Linked DNA regions of Homo sapiens: all the other regions are linked to region 1. The links are contacts of gene promoters, found by promoter capture Hi-C in blood cells and fetal thymus (Javierre and others, 2016). All regions are on one chromosome and are shown on one strand. The core of a region is centred on a gene start or on the middle of the fragment in contact, and the rest is flanking DNA. Distances in the headings are between cores, read along the strand shown.

Evidence for each region. The method cuts DNA at HindIII sites, captures the fragments that hold promoters and counts their contacts. A CHiCAGO score of 5 or more calls a contact.
Region 2: a contact is called between a fragment that was not itself captured here and the fragment with the promoter of PIGR in region 1, in 2 of 17 cell types (endothelial precursors and erythroblasts). The highest score is 7.3, in endothelial precursors.
Region 3: a fragment that was not itself captured here is called in contact with the fragment with the promoter of PIGR in region 1 in 1 of 17 cell types (neutrophils); the score reaches 7.6 in neutrophils.
Region 4: a contact is called between the fragment with the promoter of CR1L here and the fragment with the promoter of PIGR in region 1, in 7 of 17 cell types (neutrophils, naive CD8 T cells, erythroblasts and 4 more). The highest score is 15.1, in neutrophils.

What each region holds. Positions count from the first base shown.
Region 1 is chr1:206,940,167-206,947,843 of GRCh38, forward strand. PIGR (polymeric immunoglobulin receptor) reads right to left here and starts at 6,300. Exons shown (of 11, transcript NM_002644.4): 1 at 6,170-6,300; 2 at 323-418. The coding sequence starts at 365. The HindIII fragment of the contact is 20,587 bases long and covers 1,431-7,677 here.
Region 2 is chr1:207,483,216-207,490,011 of GRCh38, forward strand. CR2 (complement C3d receptor 2) reads left to right here. Exons shown (of 20, transcript NM_001006658.3): 19 at 2,249-2,357; 20 at 5,927-6,677. The coding sequence ends at 2,339. Among named protein-coding and RNA genes, the nearest start is that of CR1, 9.5 kb to the right of the region's middle. The HindIII fragment of the contact is 1,036 bases long and covers 2,279-3,314 here.
Region 3 is chr1:207,500,404-207,508,165 of GRCh38, forward strand. It overlaps CR1 (complement C3b/C4b receptor 1 (Knops blood group)), which reads left to right. Exons shown (of 47, transcript NM_000651.6): 2 at 5,501-5,680; 3 at 6,311-6,410. Among named protein-coding and RNA genes, the nearest start is that of CR1, 8.1 kb to the left of the region's middle. The HindIII fragment of the contact is 8,653 bases long and covers 1,330-7,762 here.
Region 4 is chr1:207,642,979-207,650,433 of GRCh38, forward strand. CR1L (complement C3b/C4b receptor 1 like) reads left to right here and starts at 2,155. Exons shown (of 12, transcript NM_175710.2): 1 at 2,155-2,352. The coding sequence starts at 2,256. It also overlaps the pseudogene CD46P1. RefSeq lists a silencer at 1,955-2,124 and an enhancer at 2,185-2,264. The HindIII fragment of the contact is 2,525 bases long and covers 20-2,544 here.

The DNA.
Region 1 (7,677 bases), core at 5,050-7,549:
AAGGATAAGTGACTTCCCTCAGATTTCACAGCGGGTCATAGAGATGCTTGGTTGAAGTTAAGGTCTTTGTTATTCTCAAAGAAGATCTTTCACAGACCCCTGGCCTTGAGATTAGGAAGTGCCATTCCTGTCCCTGACTTCCAATGCTCACAGATGTGGCCTTTCAGTGTCTTCTCTGTATGACTCTTCCTCAAGGAAGTGCCAACTTTGAGAGGGACATCCCTGGGGATGAGTCTGATTTTAGTGTCCCCAGGGAGGTGAACCCTGGAGTCGGGCAGGCTGAAGGGGTGGAGCTTGGAGAGTTGGGGCCTGGCAGACACACCTGGGAAGACCGCCAGCAGGCAGGTGAGCACGAAGAGCAGCATTGCTGGTGGGTCCCGAGCGCCGCACCACTCAGGCCGACTTCTCCTGTGCAATGCTGAAAAACAATAATCACAAGGAGATGAAGCGCCCCTTGTCTTCCAAGACTAGTTGACCTTAGAGTTTCTGTGACATCTATTTGGCTTTGTATCTCCAGCAACTGACATAAATCCTGTTGAATGAATCAGTGCCTCCACTTTTTCCATAACAATTCAAAGTCTTATCATCCTTCAACACTTGTATATCCTTAATAGCTAGAAGTAGCTTTTGTCTTCTCAACTAAGCTGCAAGCTCCTTTGGGATAGAGATATTGTGTCATTTGCTCTGTTTCCCTGCCCATGAGACACAGTCCCAGGCACACCGTAAGATCTCAGGAATGGCTTGCTGGGTGATTGGTTCCTACCAATACGTGGCCCCCATCTCTCTGTTTCAGCTGCCCTCCCTACATTCCTGGGAGGTGAAGCGGGCTGACATATTTCACAGTGTGTTCAGATGAGGAAACTGAGACCCACAGAGGAGGTGTCATGATTATTAAGGCTGTAAATGTAATGATGATGGTCCTAACCCCATTGATTGCTCCCTTATTCTGTCTCAGGCACTGTGTTGAATAATTTATGTGTACTATCTCATACAGACTTGATATCAGCCCTGTGAGGTTAGTATCCTTATCCACATTCACATGGGAGGAAATGAAGGCTTCAAGGTTAAGTACTTTCCTCAAGGGCACATGGGGTTAAATGTGTGGGGGTACACAGAATGGGGGTCGGGGAAGATTTGGGCCCACCTTTGTCTGACTGCAAAGTCCATGTGCTTAACCTCTCCACTACTGTATCGCACCCCAAATACAAGAGCATGCTTTTACCTTATGCTTATTTGTGTTATTTGTAGAGACCCTGTTGCTTATGAAAGCACTACCATTTACATTATTTCATTTGAGCTTTATATGTTCCCTTGAAATAAGACAGACGGGTATAATCACAACCATTTTATGGATAAAACATTGAGGTCTTGAGATGCTGAATGATAGGCTTACGTTTTCCCAGCAACTTGGTTATGGAATTGGGGTTAAAAGCTTAGGTGTTAGGGTCTTTGTAATCCTGCCTGGTAAGGCCTGGCAGACAAAGATGAAGAATCGAAGATGAGACCACTCAGACGGAGCAGCCTGTGTGGACTTTGTCTCCACCGTGGACACAGCCCAGGGCTGAGGAGAGTTGAGGGTCCCAGGGGTCTGCCTGACAGCAGCTGTCATCAAGACCCCAACTACAGCCTAGAGGAGGAGACAGAAGTCTCCACTTTCCCAGACTTTGACAGACTTTAAACTTTGGAGTTGTCTTGACAAAGAGAGTGTTAAATGATCGTAAGTTTGGGCAGTAATGAGTGCCCATAAAGATAAGGACGCTGTAAGCAGGAGGAAGCTGGGCGTTATCTCCCAGACCTCCCTCACCACCCTGGCCCCTGCTCCTGCTCCCAGACTCCCTTCACCAGCTTGAGCCAAAGGCAATAGAGTTGTTTATCTTGGTTATTTCTTTGTTGCAGGGGAATTTCCCAGCAAGGAACCTTTTATTTCCTTGTGAATATAAAGGTATTTTGTTTCTGCAGTTCTTTGGAAGAATAAAGGGAGGGAGTGGGAACAAATATGGGTGTCAGATGGCAACGTTGAGGCTCTCTTGAGTCCGGTTAATTGCCCCAGACCTTTCTTACCAGGTCAATGATTAATGCCTGGAGTGGGGCCTTGGCCAAATACCAGTCAGCTCCAACATGGAAGCAATCAGGGGACACTAGCTGGGATGTCATCACCTGCGTGGGCACTGCAAGCTGCCATGGGAGATGCTCCCAGGTGGGAGCAGCTTTCAGGAGGCCAGGAAGTCTCAGAAACAGTTGGGATGGGCTGGCTGCAAAGTCCTGGGAGATCTACCATTTTCTACTTGTGCTGGCACAGGGTGGGTGCAGTCACAGGTGGGAGGACAAAATGCTGCCTGCTTTTAAGAACCCACACCAGCAGCAGCTGTCCTTGCTTCTTGTTCCTGTCCTCACCTCTAGATAAGCAAGCTGCCTCATATTTGCGTGAGACAGGAGTGGTCTTCCCACAAGCTGAGCTGGGGGATGCAGCCCTCCTCTGGACTTGGCCTGGGTTGCAGAGAGTCAGATGCCAGCTTCTCCAAGGTGAAGACCACCCTGACCTCTGTCCCAGACTTCTCATTTTGTGACATGTTTGGGTGGCTGTGCATGTTTGTGTAGAGAGGGGACATGTGTGTGCACCCATTACCCTCTGCATGGTCTCAAGCCAGGGATGAGAGCATCAGGCATGCACAGGCAGGTCGGGCAGATGGCAACATCAGCGGGATGCACACAGTCCAGTCCTAGATGGGATGATTGGCAGGAGAGGATACCCCTGCTTTCAGGAACAGGAGCTCTTCTTTGCCCAAAGCTAAAACTTGAAGCACAATTTCTCTAGTAGCATTTGAAAGGACCTCGAGCTTTCAGAATCATTACAGACCCCTTCCTCTCAAAACCAGAGACTTTCTTCCAAACCTGGGGATTCAAATCTCGGGAGACCTCCCCAGCCCAGGGTGGCTGGGGCTGGATTTAAAGGATTTGCTTAAGGAAGGAAGAAAAAGAACATAATGTTGGGCACCTGCTACGTGCCAAATGCTTTGCTAGGTTCTTTTCTTGTAAGACTTCATCCATCAGCACAACAACCCAAGAGATAGATGTTGTTATCCTCATGACACAGGTTGGAAATCTAAGGGTTATAGGGATTCTCGACCCCAAGACCCACAGCAGAATCCTAATTTGAGGTCACTACCCCATTATCACTCTTTAAATGAGCAAAGGGACCTGCTTTATTGGGTTTTATATATATGATATTATATCATGCATGAGGGCACGTTTTCTGGTCCTTAAACTAGCAGTTGTTTTTTCACTGCTGAGGCTAGGATGTGCTAGATCATTTTCAGTTTACTAAGTTAGTATCCCAACATATGTGTAACATATGTCCCCACAATTGTGGATTGGGGCAGGAGTGTAAGCTGTGCTGAAGGATAGTTTTTCTTTTTATAAAATGTATTTAACTAGCTCCTGTTCAGTTAAAGTGACTGCACTTCATCTCTCATGGTGTGGAGTCCAAACCTTTGTCCATCTAATCTCAGGTTTCCCTCTTTTTCAGAGGAAGAAAGGTCCCCTGGACTTGGTATGAGAGTAGAAGTCTGCTTGCTGGACATCCTTTGAAGATAGAGAGATGGAGAGTGAGCTACTTAGGTTGGACTCATGTGGATAAGAGAGGAGACAAGCACTATGGGCTAGGCTAGAAGAACGTACGCTGAGTCCTTTCCAGGTGCTTTACATGTGTTAATGTGTTCCATTTTTACAGCCACCATAGGAGATGGGACAAAATGGGCAACCCCATTTCATGAGTGAGATAATTGAGGCACAGAGAGGTGAGACATTTGCCCAAGGTTGCACAGTTGGTAAGTGACTTAGATGGGATTCTAGATCAAGAGCATAGGCCCTTAGCCACTCTGCTTTACCTCAGAGGGTCTTCCTATTGAGAGGAAGCAGTGGAGAGAGGAAGAAGCAGGATATTCAATCTTAGCGAACTGAGAATTTGTTCAGTTCTTTCCTCTCTGCCTTTCACGGAAAAGGCAGTTCTTATAAGGAGACACCTGGGGCCGGGCGTAGTGGCTCACGCCTGTAATCCCAGCACCTTGGGAGGCTGAGGTGGGTGGATCATGAGGTCAGGAGTTCAAGACCAGCCTGGCCAACATGGTAAAACCCCATCTGTACTAAAAGTGCAAAAGTTAGCTGGGTGTGGTGGCATGGGTCTGTAATCCCAGCTACTCAGGAGGCTGAGGTAGGAGAATCGCTGGAACCCAGGAGGTGGAGGTTGCAGTAAGCCAAGATCACGCCACTGCATTCCAGCCTGGGTGACAGGGCAAGATTCCATCTCAAAAAAATAAAAAATTAAAAAATGAAGAGACACCTGGACCCAGAGGTAGGTGCCAACAGAGAAATTTCTTCCTGGAAAATATTAGCTGCTATTTATTTAGCACCTACCATGTGTAGGATATGTTACATAACCATGGGTATAACCAGGCATGTTGACGCCAAAGCCTCTTTCCACTCCACCATACTGTGTCGATGCCAGTGACATTGGGACTCCAGCCCCAGCCCCTCCAGAGAGAGGGCAAGACATAGATGAAGGTCTCTGCTGAGCACAATGCATAGGTATTTTTTTTTAAGTTGGATAGTTTGCTTTTTAGGTGACATCAAAATGTCCTCATGACCATATCAAAATGGCTGTACCAAAACCTCATCGTTCAAACTTGCTGGTGACTTCACACCACTCACATAGACTCACGGTGTCTTGGTTTCCTCAACTAGGGAATGACATCACAAAACCAACCCTGCCTACCTCCTCGTTGGTATCAAGGGAGAATGAGACGAAGGTGTGAAAGCCCAGGGCAAGTGGGTTTACTAAATGGAAGCCTGTGTGACCCCATTTTTTATCACCTAAAGCCACAGAGGTCTAGCGGCACTAGGAGATAAGCAGAGAGAGTTGCTTTCCTGACTCCTGGCTCAGTGTTCTTTCTGCTACTTTAGCACATCCAGGGGCGGGACAAGGATGGAGAGAGAATTCCAGATCTGGCTCTGGGAAGACCTATGTCCAGGCACCAGACAGCTGCCTTCTACCTAAACCCCTGAAATTGGCATCTCCTCTCCAGATGTTAAAGGATCTATAATTCCCCTAGTGAAGGGGGAAAGTGATGGCACAAAATAGGAGCAGCTTCAATGGCCCCAGGCACTGTGGCAATTGCACAAAGGGAACTGGGGGTCAGGGATGGAGCTTGACCCGCTGCTGCCCTTGTGCCGGACGGTCCCACTGCTGGCTTGGGCTGCTGTCAGGATGGGCAAAGGGAGGGGAAGCCCATGTCTGAGATCTGCTGGCTGCAGAGCCAGGAGGAACAGCAGGAGTTGATCATGCTGCCTGTGGGGCTCAGCTCCACCTCACTCAGTGATCCCGTGAGGACCTCTTTTTTTCTACCTCTAGGAAGGGCAGGATGATGCGATGACACACATTTATGTCTCCCATGGCAGGAATCTGCTAGAGCAAAGCGAGGTGGAATTGCAAAGGATTTCAGAGGTTCTTGGAAGCCCAGAAAAAAGGAGCTGAACATGCCTTTGCCAGAAAGCCACAAGTGGGAAACCTCAAAGAATGGAAGAGGACTTGCTAGGTGCCATACTTTATGCGCACTATCTAATTCCAGGTCTGTTGGTGTTCAATAAATCCTTGATTAATTAAACTAAACTGAAAAATATGAAACAATTCCTATTTCATTCTAGAGGTTACAAAGCTATTTCACCTGTGTTTTCTCATTTGAACCCACATTGACCCTGAATGATAGGTGTTATTTCTATCTTTGTTTTACAGATTAAGAAACTGAGGATCAGAGAGGTTAGGTGGCTTGTCTAAGGCCACACAGTTAATCAACTATGAGGAGTTAGGAAATCCAGGCACAGACCAAGCTGAAAGAGTAGAATTACATATGCTGACCACAGAGGTCCCTTCCCACCTGCTGATATTTCTCAGAAAAGGATGGGGGGCTTCCACACACGTGCATCCCTACTCGTCCCACTGCGATATGCACGCTTACTCCCCAGCCACACACAGTCACACAGTCTGCCTCCTTGTCCTTGTCACCCCACTATCTAGGAGACTGGGAGTTGGGAATGGAGGGGGTTACCTGAGCCATCGTCCCGAGCCCTTTCCAGATAGCATCCCGTCTGGGGATCCCAGAGCAGTAACACTTACTTTTAGCCACTTCCTTCTCTCCCGTTGATCTGACTTCAGGGACACAGCCTGCTGGCCAGTTGGTAACCCCTGCCTCTCTAGGAGCTACTGGCAGGGCACTGGACGCTGCTGCCAAAACTGAAACTCTGCTCAGTGTTTGACCCACACCTGGGCTCTTAAAGGGCCACTCTCCCACAGGCACCGTGGCCAGCCAGGGTCATGTGACTCTCACAGATCCCTTGCTTTCCTTTCATTTTGGCCTTCCTGGCTGGCTCCATTTGGTTTCCTTTGACCTTGGGGAGACTCTGTTACTTGGGAATCCTCCATCGTTGCAGCTTCAGGATGAGGGACAGAATGTCAAGCGTGAAGATGCTGTTCTGTCGCTTTCTAGCTGCAAGACCTTTGGCAAGTCACCTTCCTATTTCTTTTCATCTGGAAAAGAGGGATGGTAATACCAAATCTACAGGTAGAGGATATAGCCCGGTATTAGCTCTAAAATACCTGGCCCAATGCTTGATTTGAAGTTGACATCATCTGATGGGGCACAGGTGGCAGGAGTGGCTGTCGTAGTCCTTGGTCTCATATCCCCAGTTGCTCTGGAATCCCCTCCGACTCCCTAGGTTACTTAGCCTGGACAAAAATGCCCCTTATACACCTCCTGCCAAGCCCCTTTTACCAGTCCCAGAGCTCCAGGAACTGGCAGGACTGTGGCCCTTCCTGTTTCACTCCCCAGAGTCATGAAAGACTCGCTGCTTCTGGGCTCCCCTGAACATGGCTGACCTCAGAGTCTTGTTAGGACCCGGGCTCGGCTCCATAGCAAGGACGGTGCTGACCTGCTGAGCTGAAGTAGCACCTCCTTCCCTATCTGTTAGTCCATGCCAAAACATGACCTGGTTGGGACTCCCAGGTGTTCCCCAAATGATCGTGGCAGTCCTGTGACAAAAGTGAAGCCCACTCCCCAACACACACGTGTATGGCCCCCCGACCCCTCACTGCAAACCCCCACAGAAATGCTGCCCATCCTACCTGTGCAGGGCTGACCCAGGCTCTCCCTACAGAGTCCTATAGGCCAAACACCAGAAGGGGAAGGAAAAATAGAGAAATAGAGCCCTGGAGAAACACAAGGCAGCCAGAGCCCTGGGTCTTATTTTAGCTAACCACTGGCTCACTTGTGGGTGTTAACACACAATCACAGATTTCAATGGCAAGCAAAAAAACCCCATAATTTCTTTATGTAGCTTAATTTCTCTCTTTTTTTGTGGTTTGCAAACTTAGATTTTCTTTTTTTATTTTGTTTTAGGTTCCAGGATTACATGTGCAGAACGTGCAGGTTTGTGACACAGGTAAACGTGTGCCATGATGGTTTCCTGCACCCGTCAACCCACCACCTAGGTATTAAGCCCCACATGCATTAGCTATTAGTTCTAATGCTCTCCCTCCCCCCACCCCCCCCAACAGGCCCGGATGTGTAATGTTCCCCTCCCTGTGTCCGTGTGTTCTCATTGTTCAGCTCCCATTTATGAGTGAGA
Region 2 (6,796 bases), core at 1,547-4,046, 540 kb after region 1:
AATTTCTTTCACGTGCCAAGTCCCCTGCATCTATCATTTACCCTGCCACCAGTGCCATCTGATGCCATGGCTCAGTTATGTAATTCCTAGAATAGGCTCAGACATGAAGGGGTTGCACTGAAACTATGTACTGAGGGTATCTACGAACCTGGGCAGTTTGTTCTAGGCTGGAGGCGGGAGGGTGAGGGCTGCCTATGGGGTTCTGGCTGTCCTGTACAGTTAGCGTGTACTTAGAGTGTAGAGTTTACCAGAGTGTGTACCACACAACCCTGCTTTCATGAATGACTTCAGAAAAAAAGGGTGTTCTATGGCAAATAAGATTTGGACATACTGCACACTGTTTTTTTTTCTTGTGGAGAATCACAAGGACCATGAGAATATTTAATAAGAGGTTTTTTGCTATCAAGAGGACAGGATTTCCAGGACTTGGTGACATGCTGGATGTGGGGAGAAGGAGGCACATAGAATGGCTCACATGAAGGCGATGAGGTGGACCCCCTGACTCACTAAAAGAGGAGAGGGGCAGGATTTGTGGGGGAAGATGAGGAGTTCGGTTCTGACCTGGTACTTTGAGGTACTCATGATTTAGGGCTTGGGAGAAGGGTCTGGACTCGGGTGGGTGACACTTAAATCACAATGAAAGCTGTGGAACCAAAAAGAACAGAACAGATAAAAATTGGGATGAGAACAGCCCTCAGAAGAACAGTAATGTTCAAAAGGCAGAAAGTGAAGGAAGAGAGGCAGGGGGAAAACTAGCAGAGAGTAGCGTCACAGAATTCAAGGAGAAAAGGGTCTCAAAAAAAATTAGGGATGTCATTTGCAGGGCCTTCCTCATAGGAAGTCACAAGATAATTTCAGCCAAGAGGCATTAGAAATGTAAATACATAGAAAATACAGTCTCTATCTCTTTCCTTCATGCTACTGAGTTTGCTATCAGAGCACTGCATGTGTATAAAAATTTGCAAATTTGGGGAATGCTTACAAGTGCAAATAATTTATAATATTCCAGTCTAATTATTGTTTATTAATATGATTATATCATGTACTATACTTAAGTGCCTCAACTGATATGAAGCAAACATACCTGTTTAACCAGATTCCTAGTTGCCATTCATTTATTTCCATTTGCTAACCCACTTCAATTGATTTTCCAATAATTGATAAAGACACTTGAATGGCCTGAAATGCTTTTTTAAATGAGATGAGTAATCATTTAAAAATGAATGTCTAGTGACAATATTAAATATTTTGAAAAGCCATCTAAACACTTGAAAGACACTATGCTATTCTTTTCTAGTCATCTAAGATATTGTAACAAAGCTTAAATCTCACATTGACCTAAAAATTACTGTTTTATAATCTTCTTAACATATCTCCTGTACACGGAACTCTTCAATATTCTAGTGAGTGACATGCTGTCAGTGTCTTTAGCAGTATTCTTTCTTCCCCAGTAATTTTGTATTATGTTATTTTAGAGCTTTACATGGTAGTATAATCACATTTTATTGTCTTTTAGTAATTCTGGCAAAGTGGTTTTAGAAGCACAATGAAATATGTGTACTTTCAAAGAAGGAAAGTAAAAACATTCTCTTCAAACTCGTTTAAAGCTTTTAAGTCAGACTAGAACATTGAGTCCCAAAAGGGTAAAGTTATGATCTAAAATAAGAACTTATTTTTGCTTCTTTTCTTCAATTTGGAAGTTGTAGTTGTTAGTCATTAAGCGTCCTGGATCCTAGGGTAAAGCTGCTTAGTGTCAGCCTCTGACTTGAACACTTACAAGCCTAGATCATTCATTTTTTATGTGCCTTTCCAAAAAATGGAGTTACAGTGTTTACACTTCATAGGATAAAAACAATAAAAATGAAATCATCACAGAAAACCAAACACCGTATGTTCTCACTTGTAAATGAAAGTTGAACAATGAGAACATGTGGGCACAGGGAGGGAAACATCATACACTGGGACCTTTCACAGGGTTGGGGGTTAGGGGAGGGATAGTATTAGGAGAAATACCTAATGTAGATGACGGGTTGTTGGGTGCAGCAAACCACCGTGGCACATGTATACCTATGTAACAAACCTGCACATTCTGCACATGTATCCCAGAACTTAAAGTATAATTTAAAAAAATGAAATCATCCACAAAAGTACTTACCATGTGTTGGGAATTATGGAAAGCAAACAACTGCTACATTGAAACATGGTCAATGAGTAAAGATATTACATTTTTCTTTCTTCTTCTGTTTAGCAATTATTATACAGATACAAGCCAGAAAGAAGCTTTTCATTTAGAAGCACGAGAAGTATATTCTGTTGATCCATACAACCCAGCCAGCTGATCAGAAGACAAACTGGTGGTATGTAATGAAATGGAATATTATTAATTTACATATAAAATTTCCTTCAACTTGTATTTATCAATAAGCGTAGCATTCACGGTGTATATACATGCTTCTTACTATTGCACAAGTCTTCAGTAATCATGCATAGCAATTGTTCATTTACCTACTTCATTTTGCCAACTAATGTTCCAATTTTTTAATCCATTCATCCATTCAACAAATATTAAACTAAATAGCAAAACAACTAAGAATAAAATCAATAAGATGATAAGCATTATATAGAGACATAATAAAGCAGGCAAGGGGGATAAAGAGAACAGGGTGGTCGCAAGGGAAGCTCTTACTAAGAGAATGTCATTTGAGAAAAAACTCAAGGGAAGTAAAGAGCCAGGGCCGGCCTTGGTGGCTCACGCCTGTAATCCCAGCACTTTGGGAGGCTGAGGCAGGCAGATCATTTGAGGTCAAGAGTTCGAGACCACTCTGTTCAACATGGTAAAACCCTGTCTCTACTAAAAATACAAAAATTAGCCAAGCGTGGTGGTGTGCACCTGTGGTCCCAGCTACTCGGGAGGCTGAGGCAGGAGAATCACTTGAGCCTAGGAGGCGGAGGTTGCAGTGAGCCAAGACTGCGCCACTGTACCCCAGCCTGGACAACAGAGCAAGACTGCATCTCAAAAAAAAAAAAAAAAAAAAAAAAAAGCCAGCCATGTGGCCATATGAGGGAGGAGGATTCCAGAAAGAACAGTAGGTGCAAAGGCCATAAGGCAGTGTGTGCCAGCTGTGTTGGCGGCACAGCAAGGAGGCCAGTGTGGCCTACAGTTGTAGAGATGAAGTCACAGAGATGGGGGTGGGATGTGGGCGAGAGGATGATCGTACAAAGTCTGCTATGTCATTGTAATGGGATGGTGGGCAGGAGAGGATGATTGTATAAAGTGTGCTAGGTCATGGTAAAGAGATTGGTTTTTATTTGGAAGCTTTTAAGGAGAGGAGCAACACATTCACCTTAACTGCTGTGTTAAGAACAGACTGTAGGAAGCCATGGGTGGAAGATGGGAGTCAATGAGGAGGCTGCTGCAATCATCCAGGCAAGAAATTGTCAGTGGCTACCACCAGGTTGTAAGAAGAGGCCAGATTCTGCATGCAATTTTAAGACAGTGACAGTAGGATTCGTGGATAGTTTGTATCAGAATATGAGAGGAAGAGAGCTGTCAATAATGACACGAGGGCTTTTGCCTAAGCAACTGGAAGGATAGAACTGCCATTAATTACATGATTGAGATTGCAAAGAGCAGGACTGGGGAGAAAAATCAGGAGTTCCACTGTGGAGATGTTAAATGTGGATGTCTAATAGACTTGGCAAGAAGACAGCTGATGTACAAGTCTGTATTTTGGGCAATTGGTCCAGGCTGGAGATAAAAATTTGGGCTTTGTCATCATGTGGTTGTACATAACAAGGAGACTGAATAAGATCTCCGAGAAGTGAAAGAGGCTAGCAAAAAGAAAAGGTCCAAGTACTGAGCCCTGGATCCTCCAACATTAGAAGTCATGGAGTGAGAAGGCACCCACTAAGAAGTGAAGGAGCAGCCTCTGATACTATCCAGAGAAGAACCTTAAAGTCAGGCAAAGAAAGAATTTTAGGGAGGAGGGAGTGATCAACTCTGTCCAGTGTTGCTGGTAGGCCAAAAAAATGAGCCCTGAAAACTGACCATTGAAATTCAGTAGCACAATTTTTTTGCTGTTGTTGTTTGAGACAGGGTCTCACTCTGTCGCCCAGGCTGGAGTGCAGTGGTGTGATCTCAGCTCACTGCAGCCTCTACTTCCTAGGTTCAAGTGATTCTCATGCCTCAGTCTCCTGAGTAGCTGGGATTATAGGCAAGCAGCACAAAATTTGCTGCTGAACTTGACAAGACAGTTTTTGAAGAGAGGAAGGAGGCAGGAGCCTGACTGGACGGAGCTTAAGAGAGAATGAAAGGAGAGAAATTGCAGCTATCAAATACAGACAACTCTTTCTAGGTTTTTTTCTATAAAAAGGAGCAAATAAGTAAAGTGCTAGTAAGAGTAAAACATAAAGTCAACAGAAATATTTTTTAAGATTGGAGAAATAGCAGTTATGCCCTATTCCTACATGATGATGGGAATAATTTAGTAGAAAGGGAAAGAGTGATGGCAGAAAGAGAGAGAAGAATTGCTCGAACAAGGTCTGGGTAAGCTAGGAGGAACAGATTAAGCAGAGGAGCTCCTAGCTGCGTGGGCTTAGTAACAGGAGGGAGGGCAGAATCTGCAGGTGCAGATGAAGGCAGGTTGGGAGCTGTGATGGGGAGTGAACGTGTGGAAGTTCTCTTCCGATGATTCAGTCTTCTCAGTGAATAGAAAGCAAATTATTCAGGTGAGAGTGAGGCTCAGAAAGGAGGTATTAGAGAGTTAAGAAGAAAAAGGAAGGCATTAAATCATCAACTAAGAACTGAAGACTGAATTATAGGGAGTACAGAAAGGCCGACAGGCCACATGAGATGTGCACCTGAGTTTCCCATGAGAAAGTGGGGATGAACATTTGAAGGTTTACTCTGTCCGGGGATTATGTGACAGTCTTTCATGCCTTCTCTTACTTAGCCATCAGTACCACTTTGAAAGGTGGGTGTTCTCCCAAGATAATATCAAGATGAAGAAATAATATCCAAGAAAACCTTGGGCAAGGTCTCAGGGTCAATCATTGGCAAAGGTGGAATGCAAGCTCATGCCTGAGTTTAAACTGCTTTCTCCTACATAATCTAGAAAATAAAGATACCAGCCAGGAGTGGTGGCTCACGTCTGTAAACCCAGCACTTTGGGAGGCCAAGGCAGGCAGATCACGAGTTCAGGAGATCGAGAACATCTTGGCCAACATGGTGAAACCCCGTCTCTACTAAAAATACAAAAATTAGCTGGGTTTGATGGCACGTGCCTGTAATCCCAGCTACTCGGGAGGCTGAGGCAGGAGAATTGCTTGAACCAGGGAGTTGGAGGTTGCAGTGAGCTGAGATCACGCCACTGCACTCCAGCCTGCTGACAGAGCGAGACTCCATCTCAAAATAAAATAAAATAAAAAATATACCACCTCTGTCCTCTTGGAACTTATTTTAATAAGATAAATAAGACCCATAAATATCATAGGTAATAATACATACCATAAACAAGGTATAGAAAATCTGTGATGGCAGTTGAGGAAGAAAAGGTAACCTGCTGCTGGTGAGTCCTGACAGGGGGACCATACTAGTGACCTCTAAATCCAAACCAGTTGAGGTACAGAGTACACCTAGCTCATAAATATTTGTTGAATGAGTTTATGAATGAGAAAGATTAGTACTTTCATTTCTCATTTAGTTTAATTCATGTTTATATGAATGTATATAAAATGTAGTTATTTGTTCCAGAGCATGTTATATGAAGAAAGGCCTTTCAATAGAATGATATCTTCTAATAGACTTGATGCTTTGTTGGTTATACCAGCTGTAACTGGTATGTAAAGAGAATGTTAGCATTATTTAAACTTCGAGTTGCACCGCTGCTATTCATGCTGCCTCCTAAACAGAAATGATCTATTTCAGTGTGCCTCATTGCTTGGAATTCAGCGGAATATTGATTAGAAAGAAACTGCTCTAATATCAGCAAGTCTCTTTATATGGCCTCAAGATCAATGAAATGATGTCATAAGCGATCACTTCCTATATGCACTTATTCTCAAGAAGAACATCTTTATGGTAAAGATGGGAGCCCAGTTTCACTGCCATATACTCTTCAAGGACTTTCTGAAGCCTCACTTATGAGATGCCTGAAGCCAGGCCATGGCTATAAACAATTACATGGCTCTAAAAAGTTTTGCCCTTTTTAAGGAAGGCACTAAAAAGAGCTGTCCTGGTATCTAGACCCATCTTCTTTTTGAAATCAGCATACTCAATGTTACTATCTGCTTTTGGTTATAATGTGTTTTTAATTATCTAAAGTATGAAGCATTTTCTGGGGTTATGATGGCTTTACCTTTATTAGGAAGTATGGTTTTATTTTGATAGTAGCTTCCTCCTCTGGTGGTGTTAATCATTTCATTTTTACCCTTACTTGGTTTGAGTTTCTCTCACATTACTGTATATACTTTGCCTTTCCATAATCACTCAGTGATTGCAATTTGCACAAGTTTTTTTAAATTATGGGAATCAAGATTTAATCCTAGAGATTTGGTGTACAATTCAGGCTTTGGATGTTTCTTTAGCAGTTTTGTGATAAGTTCTAGTTGCTTGTAAAATTTCACTTAATAATGTGTACATTAGTCATTCAATAAATTGTAATTGTAAAGAAAACATACAACACTTGCCTTATTTTGTTTTTTTTTGGAGTCAATGAACTCTTCGATAACAGAGAGTCTTAGGGCTTTAAAGTCCACGATTTAACAGTTATTCATTCAGGATCCCATCACTTGGTCG
Region 3 (7,762 bases), core at 4,406-6,905, 560 kb after region 1:
TGGAAAGCAGAGTGTTCTTTGGGTTGACAGCTCATATTGCAACAGACATGAAAGTGATGATGTGTTAATTGTGCATATAGCACAGAATACATCAACTTGCTTTGAATGGAATATCTGAACCAGGAGAATGTGAAAGTGGGCTGAGTCATACAAGACAAAACCCGAAATGAGATAACAATACATACCCACTAGAATGACTAAAATGAAAAAGATTGACCGAGCCAAGTGTTGGCGATAAGGTGGAGTAACTGGAATTATAATATACTGCTATTTGGCAGGTAAAATTATAACATTAACTTTAGAAAATAGTTCAACAGATTCTTAAAACCTTAGACACACACTCAACATTTTACTCTTAGGTTTTTACCCAAGAGAAATGAAATCATATGTCCACACAAAGACTTGTACATGAATTTTCATAGCAGTTTTGTTTGTAATAGCCAACACGTGGAAACAATCCAAATGTCCCTCAACAAGTAAATGGATAAACTAAATTAAGATATATTTATGCAATTGAATATTACCCAGCAACTAAAGGAAACAATTTGTATACATGCAGCAACCTAGATGGATCTCTAATTATGCTGTGTGAAGGCTAAACCATAAAAAAAAACCTGAGTGATTTCCTTTATACAATAGGATATAAATGAAGTGATTTAGGTTATATGAAATTTTAGAAAGTCAAATCAATCTGTAGTAAGAGAAAACCACCTGAGTTATTTCCTTTATATGATAGGATATAAACGAAGTGATTCGGGTTATATGAAATTTTAGAAAGTCAGATCAATCTGTAGTAAGAGAAAACACATTGAAGGTTGCCTAGAGAAGGAAGTGGATGTTTGGATGGATTACAGAAGGGCATGAGGGAACTCTGTGTGGGTGGGATGTATGATGGAAACGTTTATTGTCTTCATTTTGGTGATGGTTTCACAACGCATACATATGTTATAAGTAATCGAATTGTACACTTCAAATACTCATCAATCATTGTATGTAATATATCTTGATAAAGCTATAAAAACTTTTAAAATTATGGTAGGTCTTCAGTTTGTGGATTTTATATTAATATATTTGTCATAGGAACTAGTCACAATTGAGGGATTGGTAATAAAGGAGAGAAAGGAAACTACATCAAGCTTTCTTTGTTGAAGGCTCATATATTCCTTTTTTGAGCTATTATACAACTTTGCTTTTTATAATTACCTATACTATTCATATACTACTATGCAGGTAAGAATATTATGTAATTAAGGGGAAGGAACTTCTTTCCAAGAATGGTTCATTCAATTTGCTTTGTTACTTTAGGTCTCATTCCTTCCTCTCGTTGCAAGCTTTGCTGTGACATTTACCCTCTCTCAATACAGCTTTTGGCGCTAGGCACTTCACATGGAATCTCTTCCTTTGTCCGGCATCAATGGATAAGACAAATATCAAAATTGTATTTCATCCCACATATCAACTAGAGGAAAGGTGAATGCATAACACTGAAAATAACAGCAACTGTTTTACTCAGTGTTTTTTTTTTTTACAGTATCCTCAAAGTGCTGTTATCTATCAAAATCAGCTGTGAAAATTTTTAAAAATAGACTCCTGGGCCCTAACCTAGACCCACTAAATCAGAGATTTGGGGGACATAGCTTGGATTCTTGATTTTTTTGAGTTTTATAAGTAATTCTTCATTTTTTGTTCATTGCAACAAATATGCATTGAGTTCTTATAATTGAGTGTTAAGCACCAGGACTAAGTATTAATTTAGAGGTACAAAAAAACACATCATCTCTTGCCTTTAAATTATGCATATCTAATATCTATTGAGAGAAATAGATACTTCTAAAAGCACACAAAGATAAAAAGCACAAATTGTAATAACAAACAATTATTGATATGAAAGGAAAAGCAAAGTGTCGGACTAGAAATTATTATAGGGTGGGGCAGAGGGAAGTAGTTTAGATTCCAAATCCCTAAGAGGGTCAGGGAAGGCTTCAGATGAGATTGGGTGTGTTCAGGGTGGTATGGCCATAGGCAGGCTGGGGAAGGCTTCTATAAGAAAGTGACATTTTAGCAGATGCCTGAAGGAAGAATTGAAGTCAGAGTGAAGATAAAATTGCGTCACATAGAAGGAATGTCATAGACGGGAAAAATGTGTGTCTTTGGGAAACTGAAAAAGGGGAAAGGGCCACACCTTGGTGAGGGGACCAAGTGGCACAAGATGAGGCAGGGAACATAGACAAGGGCTTCCTTGCTTAACAACTGCTGGCTTAATAAAGCAAATGTGTGATGATGGATACAGGCTGTCTGGGAAAAATAAGTAAGAAATATGAGCTTTCTTGGAGCATCATCCTTTGCTTCAGTAGAAAGCACAGAGTTAGGCTTCCAATTCTGACTAAAGCCATTGACAACAGGGAAAAGGCAACCTTAGGAATTCTCCTCTCTGTCCGGGGTCCCGTGGGCACTATGATGGAGCTCATGAGATGCAGATGAGAAGTCCCAGGCTGAATCCGGGGCACATTCACTCAGGAGAGCTGAGGTCACCAGTCACTGAGGTCATCCAGTGCATTCCCGACAGCATAGGCTCATTCCAAGCTAGTTCTGCAAAGGAGCAGAAAATGAACTCTTGGAAGCAAAGCAAGCACTCCCACTTTAGCGGAATAATCGAATTTAACTCTTAGAAGTCCCCTTACCCTTTTCTAAGGGTAATAATCGTAAGTATAATTTATGAAGTGCCTTCTGTGTATGTGGCAGCATATACTACTTTTGATTCTCCCTGCAAACCTGGTAGGAAAATATTATTCCCTTTATGAAGATGAAACTGAGGCTCAGCAAGATTAAGCGGTTTGCCTAAGACCTCATAGCCACTAAGTAGAAGACATTGGGTTCAAGATTCAATCTATGAACCCAACATTTTTAATACTATATACCATTCTCTTTTTGTATTAATTTCCTATTGCTGCTGTAACAAATTTCCACAAACTTAGTGGCTTAAGACAACAGAAATGTATTCTCTTCCAGTTCTGGAGGCTGACGTCTAAAATAGATCCATAGGGCTGTGTTCCTTGTGGAGGCTCCAGGGGAGCAGGGGTTTTCTTGCTCTTTCCAGCTTCCAGGGGCTGCTTCCGTCCTTTGGCTCTTGGCCTCCTTCCTCTACCTTCCAAACCAGCACCATAGTGTCTCTGAATATCCTTCTTCTGTCTCCTTTCACCCTCTTGCCTCCCTTTTATAAGGACCCTTGTGATCACATTTAAGGTCCACCTAGATAACCCAGGATAATCTGCCCATCTCAAGATTCTTAATCACATCTGCAAAGCCCTTTAACCATTACAGGTAACAATCACAGGCTTCAGGGATCAGAACATGGATATCTCTGAGAGGTCCTTACTTAGCCTACCACACCTTTCCATATAGATTCTCAAAATTTTAGCTGAGCCTAATAAGGGAGTTCATTACCATTAGGGTCCGGTTTAGTAGCAAGTGCTTCCTTTAAGTGAAAAGGTGAAAGTTGTCCACTTAATAAGGAAAGAAAAACATTGTATGTTGAAGTTGCTAAGACCTAAGGTAAGAAGGAATCTTCTATCGATGAAATTGTGAAGAAGGAAAAATAAATTTGTGCTAGTTTTGCTGTCACACTTCAAACTGCAAAAGTTACAACCACAGTGCATGCTAAGTGCTTAGCTAAGAGGGGAAAGGCATTAAATTTGTGGGCGGAAGAGGTGAACAGAAATGTGTTCTAATTGACAGCTGTCAGGTTTGGTACTATCTGAGGTTTTGGGTATCGGCTAATGTCTTGGAACATGTCCCCCAAAGATAAGTGGGTGACTACTGTATATTCAAAATAAGCATTTATATACTGGGGAGTAAATCTCCCATGTTATTTGTGTTTTATTTGTCCCACAAATAAAGTAAACAAAGTAGAATTTTAGGCAAGATTCATTTCTAGAGGCAGAGATATTTTATTATAATAAAGAAGGTTGCTCTACCATAAAATATAGCAATTTAAATTTTTATAATCCTAATAACCTCAAAATATATAAAATAAAAGATGGACAACATTATAAAAAGAAATAGACAAATGTACAATAAATAAAATATTTTAACACAACTCATTATCTAGTAAGACAAGTACTCCCCCCAAAATCAGTAAAGTATCTAGAAGATTTGAATAAATATTAACAGATTGGATTCACTGACCTTGTTACAAGAAAGAATTATACATGATGATAGGAGAGAGGAAGCCACAGCACAGGCACTTACTGATTAACTAAATTTTGAAGCTGTGAAATGCACCTTATCCTTTAGTGAAAGATGATATAAATAGCTTAGTTGCCTTCAAACTGGCAGAGACTTTTTGAATGGATGGATGCTGATTTTTTAAAAAGGAGCCCATTTCTGAGGCATCTTTTAAAGCAGGGGTCCTCAACCCCTGGGCCATAGACTGATACTGTCCAGTGGCCTGTTAGGAAATGGGCAGAACAGTAGGAGGTGAGCAGCCAAGCATTACTGCCTGAGCTCCACCTCCTGTCAGATTAGTGGCAGCATTAGATTCTCATAGGAGCAGAAACCCTATTGTGAACTGTGCATATGAGGGATCTAGGTTGCATGCTCCCTATGAGAATCTAATGACTGATGATCTGAGTGGAACAGTTCCATCTCAAAACCATTTCCCTGCACCCTCCATTCACGGAAAAATTGTCTTCCACAAAACCAGTCCCAGGTGCTAAAAAGGGACTACTGTTGTAAAGGAATAAGTCCCTTTGCTATTATTATTTTTATTAAGATGGAATCTTGCTCTGTCACCCAGGCTGGAGTGCAGTGGCACAGTCTTGGCTCACTGCAACATCTGCCTCCTGGGTTCAAGCAATTCTCCTGCCTCAGCCTCCCAAGTAGCTGTGCACAGGCATGTGTACAGGCAAGTGCAATCATGCTCTGCTAACTTTTTGTATTTTGGGAGAGGCAGTGTTTCACCATGTTGGCCAGCCTGGTCTCAAACTCCTGACCTCAAGTGATCCACCCACCTTGGCCTCTGAAAGTGCTGAAATTACAGGCATGAGCCACCACTCCTGCACCCCTTGGCTATTATTGAAGTGTTCTTTTTCTTTTTTGATCACATCTATGAAGTATATTGGAGAGAAAGAGAAGGTAGAATGGGAATTTCAACAGGGTCACGGTGGCTCACTCCTGTAATCCCAACACTTTGGGAGGCCAAAGTGGGTAGATGACCTGAGGTCAGGAGTCGAGACCAGCCTGGCCAACATGGTAAAACCCCATCTCTACTAAAAATACGAAAATTAGCCAGGTGTGGTGGTGGGCACCTGTAATCCCAGCTACTCAGGAAGCTGAGGTAAGGACAATTGCTTGAACCCAAGAGGCGGAGGTTGCAGTGAGCCAAGATAGCGCCACTGCACTCCAGCCTGGGTGATGGAGCCAGTCTCCGTCTCAAAAAAGAAAAAAAAAAGTATGGTAATTTCTCCATTAACTTTGATGCTTCTATGGTCTTGATCTCCAGGTCAATGCAATGCCCCAGAATGGCTTCCATTTGCCAGGCCTACCAACCTAACTGATGAATTTGAGTTTCCCATTGGGACATATCTGAACTATGAATGCCGCCCTGGTTATTCCGGAAGACCGTTTTCTATCATCTGCCTAAAAAACTCAGTCTGGACTGGTGCTAAGGACAGGTGCAGACGTAAGTAACTCTGGAGTGGGAACCCCCCTGTTAGTCAAACATCTGTAAGATCTGATTCAATTTGTTCAAATTTTGTAACTGAGTTGCATATGACAATTAGTTTGCCAAGGTGCAATACATATGAGAATTATTCTTGTAGATCATACCTTGTTACTGCTTTGAGTTCCTGGCGCCTTCATTAAAAGTTTATTTCATGAGAAACAGTCATTGCAGGACATGATTGAGGGAAAATCCCCATTCACTGGGGGTCTCCCATTTTCATGACTAAAATTAAGTAATGAATGACTTGGGACAAGAAAGAGAAGTGGATTAAATAACTAAAAGATGTGACAATCTTGGGCTTTGAGATCTTTGGATTATACCAGTTGAATTGAATTACAGATAATAACAAAGTTTACATTTTTCTGGGAGGCATAATATGGGGATGAAACAGATCTGAAAGGAAAGTTTTTTTTGAAAGGGAGCTGATCCTGAGGCAGTCTGGTGAGTTTCCTCAAGGTAGCAAAATCTGTGGAACCATCAGAACTGCGTGTGTTCCTCAGTAAGCTACAGGCAGGTTGAGACCTTATGTACTAAAAAAAGTTTTTAGTTTACTCTACTTGGCTCCAAAATTCTGTTTCTTTCCTGTAGGTAAATCATGTCGTAATCCTCCAGATCCTGTGAATGGCATGGTGCATGTGATCAAAGGCATCCAGTTCGGATCCCAAATTAAATATTCTTGTACTAAAGGGTGAGTTGGCATCTCTTGAACCAACATCTCTTGGTTCAAGAGTTCTAACACAGCCTTACTACCTTCTAGTCACATGTCAGAAAGGACAACTAAACTATTACCATCTGCTCTTTAACGGCTTCAACACAGATGTTTAGCTCCTGACTGAAATGAGCAAAGGTATGACAAGATCGGGGGAAAATCATCTGTATCCTTGCTGGAAACCAAGGCAGAGCATATATGAAAAGTGTGGCATTCATTGGGTGGGAAGGAAGAAAATGGGGGAAGAGTATAGTCAAAGCACACAAACAGCCTTAACGCAGAGGGGACATTGCTGGAAGAAAGGGAAGGCCATTGAGTAACTGTGTGAGAGAAATCTTAACGGTCATAGCACAAGTAGTTTGCTAGGGCTGCTGTAACAGAGTACTCCAAAACGGGTGGCTTAACACAAATGAAGTTTTTAAAATTCTGTTCCGGAGGCTGAAAGTGCAAAATCAAGGTGTTGGCAGAGCCATGCTCCCCTCTAAAACCTGTAAGGATGGATCCTTCTTTGCTTCTTCCAGCTTCTGGAGCCCCAGGCCTTCCTTGGCGTGTGGCAGCAGAACTCCCGTTTCTGTCTCTGTCCTCACATGGCCGTCTTCCCTCTGGGTCTGTGTCCTCACATGCTGTTTTCCTGTCTGTGTATGGCTGTGTCGAAAGTGCTCTCTTTTAATAAGGACACCAATCATAATGGATTAGCGCCCACACTAACGACCTCATCTTAACTGGATTGCCTCTCCAAAGACCATATTTCCAAATAAGATCACATTAATAAGCACTGGGGATTAAGACATCAATATATTTCGGGGTAAGGGGGACACAATTCTCATTCATTGCTGGTAGGAATGCAAAATGGTACCATGACTTGGAAAGATAATTTGGCAGTTTTTTATAAAACTAAACATACTCTTACCATGTTATCCAGCAGTTATCCTTCTTGGCATTTATCCAAAGGAATTGAAAACTCATGTTCACACCAAAAAAAAAAGAAATCTGCACACAGATGTTTATAACAGCTTTATTCATAATTGCCAAAACTTGGAAGCAATCAAGATGTCCTTTAGCAAGGGAATGGATAAACTGTGGTACATCCATACAATAGAATATTATTCAATACCAAAAAGAAATGAGCTATCAAGCCATGAAGAGACATAGAGGAACCTTAAATAGTGAACCTTTTTTCACCATCACTAAGTGAAAGAAGCCAATCTGAAAAGGCTACATAACATATGATTCCAACTATATGCCATTCTGGAAAAGGCAAAACTATGGAGACAGTGAAAATATCAGTGGTTGTCAGGGGTTAGGGAAGAAGGGGATGAATCGGAAGAGCA
Region 4 (7,455 bases), core at 905-3,404, 700 kb after region 1:
CTCAGAACCATTCAAATGAAGCTTCAGTTAACTCAAATAAAAATTAGTTTTATAAATTTAATGTGAAAGTCTTCGAGTATATTAAGAATGGCTTGATTAACCCCAGGGATGGAAATTTTACTGATTGAAAGAAAGTTTCAATAAAATACCGATCTTTGAATCTAATCTGACACCTGAAACTAGGAAATCAAACACTAGCCATATTTTTTCTTCTATTCTTTATAATAATTTTTCTCATGAGAAAAAGGTATCTTTCTTCCAAGCCTGAAAATAAATGGAGAATTTTTAATATCTATTGATGTGGAGAAAAATAAATAGACTATCTGCTTTCACAAATAAGTGCTGGCATTGAGCCACAGAACATGTCTGTCATATTGCTCTTTCACACCATACATTAACAGGAATAATAATTTCTCCTCATTGAGTTTCCTATTTACTATCCCCTTAATTATACCTCCTTTAATTACTGTCATAGAGTGTCTGAATTTTATAATCCAAGATACTAAGATGTTTATTTGATATACCACCAGACTCAATGTCTTGTATTCTATGCCAAAAATTTGAAAATGTTTGGGAAGAGGAAATTCCGTGGTTTGGTGAACCCAGAAAGTCTTCAGTACATCTCAGTTATAGAACTGTATTAAATACATTTAAACTCTATAATTCCATAAGACCCATTTTAGGTTTATACACTAAGCATCTAATTCCTCACTATCCTCTCATACAAACCCTGTGTAATACAAGTTCTACTCCCATAATTCTATGAACAAAACAACAATTGATACATAGATTTGATTTTTAAAATACATTTTCTTTACCTTATTCTAAATGTAACATAGGGTCAACATAGAAAAAGAAAACTGAAAAGCACAAGGAAAGTGAAATATCTATAATCTTAACCATTGTTAATTTTGTTGTGTTCCAAATTAGTGTATGTATATATATATATATATATATAGCATTTTTGTTTTAATAAAAGGACTGCCAAAATGCACATGCCAATTTGGACTCTGCTTTTTCCACTTACAATGATATCATAGTTTCTCACATTTGGTATTCTTTTGCAATACTTGCTGCATAGAATTCCATCACACAAAGGTAACTGCCTCCTTATTACTTTTGCTAGACACTTAGGGTTTACATTTTTTACAAAAATTATAAATCTTTGATCACAGCTCTGATGATTTCTCTGGGAACTGAGAGCCTAACACAAGTCATTTCCACTTTAAGACTTTTAACATTCTGAAAAGTTATGTTACAAACAGAGTGCTGGTCCCCCTGCAACATGTTCACTCACATTGGCTGACGTTTTAATTCTTTGCCAATCTGAGGGGAAGAGATGTCAACTTTTTTTGTTTGCTCTTTTAATGCCAGTCATGTTCCCTTTTTTTTTCCCCCTTTTACCAGTCATACTGGCTTACTCAGAACCCTACAAATCAATCCTGCTCATTCTTAATTTTCCAACATTGTTCCTGAGATTGTTTCACCAGAAAAGTTCTCCCCCTTATCCACTTCGCCTAACAATTTCTACCCATCCCAATCCTCCTGCATTTATTGCTTCCAGGAATTTGGCACTTAGGACACCCTTGTCCTTACATTGTTCATGCATGTATATTTCGTCTTCAATAAAACATTTAGTTGCTCAAGGGCAAGGGTCCCATAGAGTCTCAATATGCTAACGGCCTGGTGTTGCTTAATAATTTAGATTCTGACGGGTCCTCTCCAGGGAGGGGAGCAAAGGGCAAATTATCTTAGGGGCTGGGAGTGCAGAAGCCAAACCTTTGAGACTGTGAAAAGAAGACGGCGCCGAGACGATTCAGTAGCAGGCATTCAAGCAAGAAAAACTCAAATATTGTTCCCAATAATGCCTGACTAATGCCAAATACCAAGTAAGGGCCCAGGCAGTCCTGACAGCCTGCAGTGCCCCAGGATAAAACTAACCCTGAGGGGTGCTAGCCCACGATAACCCCCTGCCAGGGCTCTGGACACGCCCTGTCTCCTCGAAGGCCAACGGGCTGCCCCTGCGCGCCGAGGCCCCGCCCCGCGGCCCGCCGATTGGCCCCAGCCGCCCCGGCGCTAAGACTCAATTTCACACTACGCGCCCAGGCCACGCCCACCTGTCATGCGGCCCTGGAAACTGTGAGTTTGGGGATTGTTGTGTCCACTAACCGGACTCAGAAGGGACTTCCCTGCTCGGCTGGCTTTCGGTTTCTCTGCTCACCTCCGGATAAATCACGGGGTCTCCCGCGCCGCTCATGGCGCCTCCCGTCCGTCTCGAGCGTCCCTTTCCTTCCCGGCGCTTTCCTGGGTTGCTTCTGGCGGCCCTGGTGTTGCTGCTGTCCTCCTTCTCCGGTAGGACCCCGGGGTGGATTCGCGCGTCCGCGGCGAGGCTAGAGCTCTGCTCAGTCAGTCGGGCAGGAGGCGCGGGGCGAAGCTCACTGCACGTCGTGCCTGCTTGGGATAGAGAGCGAGGCCAGGGTTCTCCGAGGGGTGCCGTGCTCAGATCCCGGGGGTATGTGGCGGGGGATGCGGGAACCACGCAGAAGCTTGTTTGGTGGCATCGTGTGCGCGGCCGACATTTACGCAGGATCTGGCTGCGTTCCCAAAAGAAGCGTGAATCGTGTTTTCGGGATTGAGCCCAGTCAGCAAGGGGAGGGCTTACTGGGCGCCCCAGGTGAGGGCTTGCTCTGGAGTGCACAGGTGCGTGGGATTGTTGCTAGAGCCCGTGCTGTGCCCGTGGTGAGAGTTTGCCCTGTGTTCCCTTGGTGCCTTGGTGAGTAGGGTGTTCATTAGGGCTTGGACAGTACCCGCGGTAAGGGTTGCAGTGCGTCTGCTGTGCCCCATGGGCTGGGCTGGCCTGGGCTGGGCTGGGCGAGCAGGGGCCTGGCCAGGTGTTGCTGGGAGCGTGCTGTGCGCAAGTGGCCTGTGTGCGGAGTTCACTGTGGGCAAGACAGCTCACTGTTTGCTTTGAGTGGAGCGAGCGCGGACTCTGCGGCTAGGGAGGGCATGTTGAGTGAGAGCAGGCTCTCAGTGCCTGGGGTTAGAGAGGTGGTAAGGGCGCACCATGCTTTTAGTGCCTTCTGTGAACAGTGTCCGTGTTGCCTGAGATCGTATTGGTCTTGAATTTTAAGTGGCTGCTTTTTTGGGGGGTGGGTGGGCCATCGAGTCATCTTCCTGTTCCCAACCAATATAGACAGTATCTGATTCCATTGCCTAGTGGCTTTTTGACATTGTTTTCCTTCTTTTCATTAGTTTGAGTCATATTTGAGAGATGTGAAGCAACCTAAAAAACACTGGTAGCCAAACCTAGTGAGAAATTAGTATCCTAACAAAGGAAGGCAGATAATGTTAATCTTGTTTTCCCCTACAGCTCATAAACTGAAGCTTAAGGCCTATCCCACTGTTTTGTATTTCATTGAATGGAATCAATATTTTTAAAAATGCATGCTAGGCCAGGCCCAGTTGCTCACACCTGTGATCCCAGCACTTTGGGAGGCCCAAGTTGGGTGATTGCTTAAGCCCAGGAGTTCAAGATCAGCCTGGACAACATGTCAAAACCCCATGTCTACAAAAAATAAAAAAATTAGATGGGCATGGTGGTGTATGCCCGTGGTCCCAACTACTCCAGAGGCTGAGGTGGGAGGATCGCTTGAGCCCAGGAGGAGAAGACTGCAGTGAGCTGTGATCATGCCACTGCACTCCAGCCTGGATGACAGTGTGAGACCCTGTCTCAAAAAAAAAAAAAAAAAAAAAAAAAGCCAAAAAATACATGCTTAAATACAGGCTTATTGTGCAAAATGAACAAAATAAAAGGACAACTGTTTTTAATATTTTGTTATATTTCCTTCTGACTTTATTGTGTTTCATGTGTATCTATGTCCAAATTATATTTAGGATCTTATTCCATGTACAGATTGTACGTTGCATTTCTTCTCTTAGGAACATTCATTCAACAAATATGGGTCTTGTATGTCTGGTGCTGTTACACTAGTAGGTAATAACAGACAATTCCTATTTTCTTTATCCTTTTTTTACTATTTGTTTACACACACGTACATGCAGGAAGATAAGCAGGGACTTTTTTTGCTCATTGTTAAGTGCTTAATGCCGGGAACACAGTAGGCAATCAACAGATGTTTGCTAAAATGTATTGGGAGTGGCAGACATTAACCAAAACATAATAGTAACAAATATATTAACCAGGGAAGTGTTCTGGAGGAAAGGAGTATAATTTTCTGACAGCATTTAACAAATGACTGGGGGGAGGGAAGGCTTTGCTTCTCATCAAACAGACAAAACTCTGCCACTTTGGGGCATCTGTGCTTTCTGTTCCCTCAGTCCTGGAACGTTCTCCCCATGACCTGCTGCATAAATGGGCTGTTTCTTCTGCAAGCTCAGCTGGAATGTTACCGCTTCAGAGACCTTCTTGGAACCCCCCAACTCAGGTTGAACACATACAACCCAGTTCAAGTACCTCTTGTAATCACCCTTTTAAAGTGATCTTTTCTGTTCTCTGTCTCTCCCCATCAGAATGCAGGAATCTTCTGTCTTCCCCCATTTGTGGTTCCAAAAGCCCCATTTGTTTGCTTCTGTATGAACCCTAACTCAGTATCCATATAGACATCTGTTAAATATCAGAAAATTAAATATACTATTTGGCTGGGGCTTAGAGCCTAGGAAAAAGTCCCTCCTGCCTCCAAGAGGAAGGTTCTTTAAAGAGCTATGCTCAGGATGGTCTTTCTGTTGTACCTAAAAAGCTAGGGCAGCAGCAGCTGAGGGCCAGAAAGGATCTGTCTCCCCTGTTTATGTTGACTCTGCAGGGCTTCCAGTACTTCAGTCTTGCATCTCACTGATCATTAAAACGTTCATTTTGAAGGAGGGTGATGGGATTAGGGAGCAGTGGTGTTAAGAAGAAAACGAAAGGACTTTTTTTTCTTTTTAAAGATTAATGTTTAGAATAGGCTTAGTACTAGAAGTACATACAGCCTGGGCATCATAAGGAGAGCCCACCTCTACAGAATATTAAAAACAAAAAATTAGCCAGGTGTGATGTTGCATGCCTGTGGTCCCAGCTACTTGGGAGGCTGAAGGGCGTGAAGGGGGAGGATCACTGGAGCCCCCATGGTCAAGGCTGCAGTGAGCCCTAATCATACCACTGCACTCCAGCTTGGGTGACAGAGTGAGACCCGGTCTCAAACACACACACACACACACACACACACACACAGACACACACACACACACAGAAAAAAAAAAAAAACCTGGAAGTTGAAGAAGATAATGAAAGCAATTTGAAATAGAGGAACATAGAATTATAAAATGAATAGGGTGCAACATGGAAGATAACAAAACTAAAAATGAAGAGAAGGAAAAATAAGGTTAAGTTTGAGGTTGATAGGGTTAAATCAAGACAGGTATGAAACCTAGAGAAAGTAAAAATGAGAACTCACGATGCTAGGCAGAGAGAATACATGAATTAAAATAAACATTCAATTTTTGGAGCAACTCACTCTCACAAAGATAAGGTTTTGTAAGCAGGTGGTGCTGTGCATGGGAGACCTGCCCTCTCAAAGGTAGTTGCCAAATGGTTCCAGATAGCAGAAGGAAACATGTGTCAAATTTCAGGCCAGTCTCATTCATTCCTCCAGAAGAGGAGCTGCTTTTTTGGACAAAACCCCCGATCTCCTGTTGTGTGTGGTCTCTTCTGCCTATTTCAGGTGTTTTCCTTATTTTCAATGAAAGAAGCCAAGACCAGTAAGTTCTTATTGCTTCTTAGTTTCCTCACTCGGCATACTACAATGCAAAAAGAGCAGTCCATATCTGGTCACCTGCCAGGATACCAGAAGACTGGGAGATAGGCAGCACAAGAAATGGCTAAATCTTCTTTCTCCATTGTTCTGTAGAATGATTATTTTCAATATGAAATTGATTACAATATATTCTTCACATTGTTTTGTGTTTGACAGCAGTGGACTTTGAGTACCAAATTTTTTTCAAATAGCTACTATGAGGGACATATTGTGCTGGGTGTTGTGGCCACATGGATGAATGGAGTCGGCCTTGTTAACTATTAAACTCAAAAACACGTGATAATTACCTGAGAGATCCATGCAGGGGAGAGTCCAGGGGAAGGTGACTGATCACTGCTTCCCAGGGGGAGGCAGAAAATGCTTCTTGGAGGAGATGATGGGTGGATTAAAGAAGACAAGAGCTGAGCAGGAGTTGTAGCTACCGGCCAGGGAGGAAGGGTATTCAGAGCAGAGGAAGCAAGGTGAGCAAAGGCACCAAGATGTGACACTGCTGGACTGCCAAGCTATTCAGTGTGGCAGAGTAGGGTAAAGGAGACAACAAAGAAGGGAGAGGAATAAATCACAGGGTGAGCAGTTCTAAAAAGCAACAGGCTTGTCAGGAATAAACAATCACCATCGTAAACTCAGACTTTGGTATTATTCCCTGTCCTTTTAGGGCAGCTTGAGCCCTTTTGTTTGACTTAGCACAACGTGACTCCAAACTAGGGTTGTTTTAATTTCCCGAGACACAGTAGTAGGCAATTTCTTGAGGACCTAATTGCAGATAGAGTTTGTCGGTCTCAGCATGTGGGAGCTCCAGATGAATGGCAGTAATGGGAAGCAGTTTGGTAGTGGTTCAGCAGTGTGGCCTGGGAACCTAGTTGACTGGCCTGCCTCCTGGGTCTGCCAACCTAACTGGAATGTATTCTTGGGTTCTGATTGTGATGGGATTTAAAAGTCTCTAAGCTATGTTAGGAAGCCTTAGACATTATCCTGAGGTCATTGGAGAGCCATCGAAAGGTATCTGTCTTGGAAAAACCTTGATTACTCTGTCATATAAATACTGCTCTGGTAATGTGAAAAATGAATTGAATGAAAGGTGGCAAGATAGGTATGGAGACCTATTTAGTTATGTCGTGGTAATCCAGATAAGAAATGATAGTGGCTTGAATGAAAAGTAAAGGATACAACTACATAGAATAAACGGGCATTTCAGTTGTGGAAACATAACTTGTTTGGGGGGCGTGTGTGTGTATGTGTATGTGTGTGTAGAGTCAAAAGTGGCTCTTGGGCCTCCCTTTGTTGTTTGAGCTAGAGTGACACATTCCAAGTAGAGCTGTGTGGGGAGGCAATTGAATATGTAGTTTTGGCACCCCAGCTAGAGATCTGGGATGGAGAGATACCCAGCTAGGAGGCAGCTGGTTATCAGTGGTAATGAAGTCACAGAAGTGTATATATTCTCCCAGGGGGACCTGCAGAATGGAATCACAGGAAGTCCTCCTACAGACTCATCAGGGATATTACCTTGGTATGAGCCAGAGGACAAGCTGAAAACCAGAGTGGTTTGCTCTCCTAAAAGCCAAGGAGTGAGAACTCTTCAGGCAGAAGAGAGTGAGGGCAGAGTGATCAGTAGCTCTCACGTTATCAAGAGGGTAATTCAAACTAT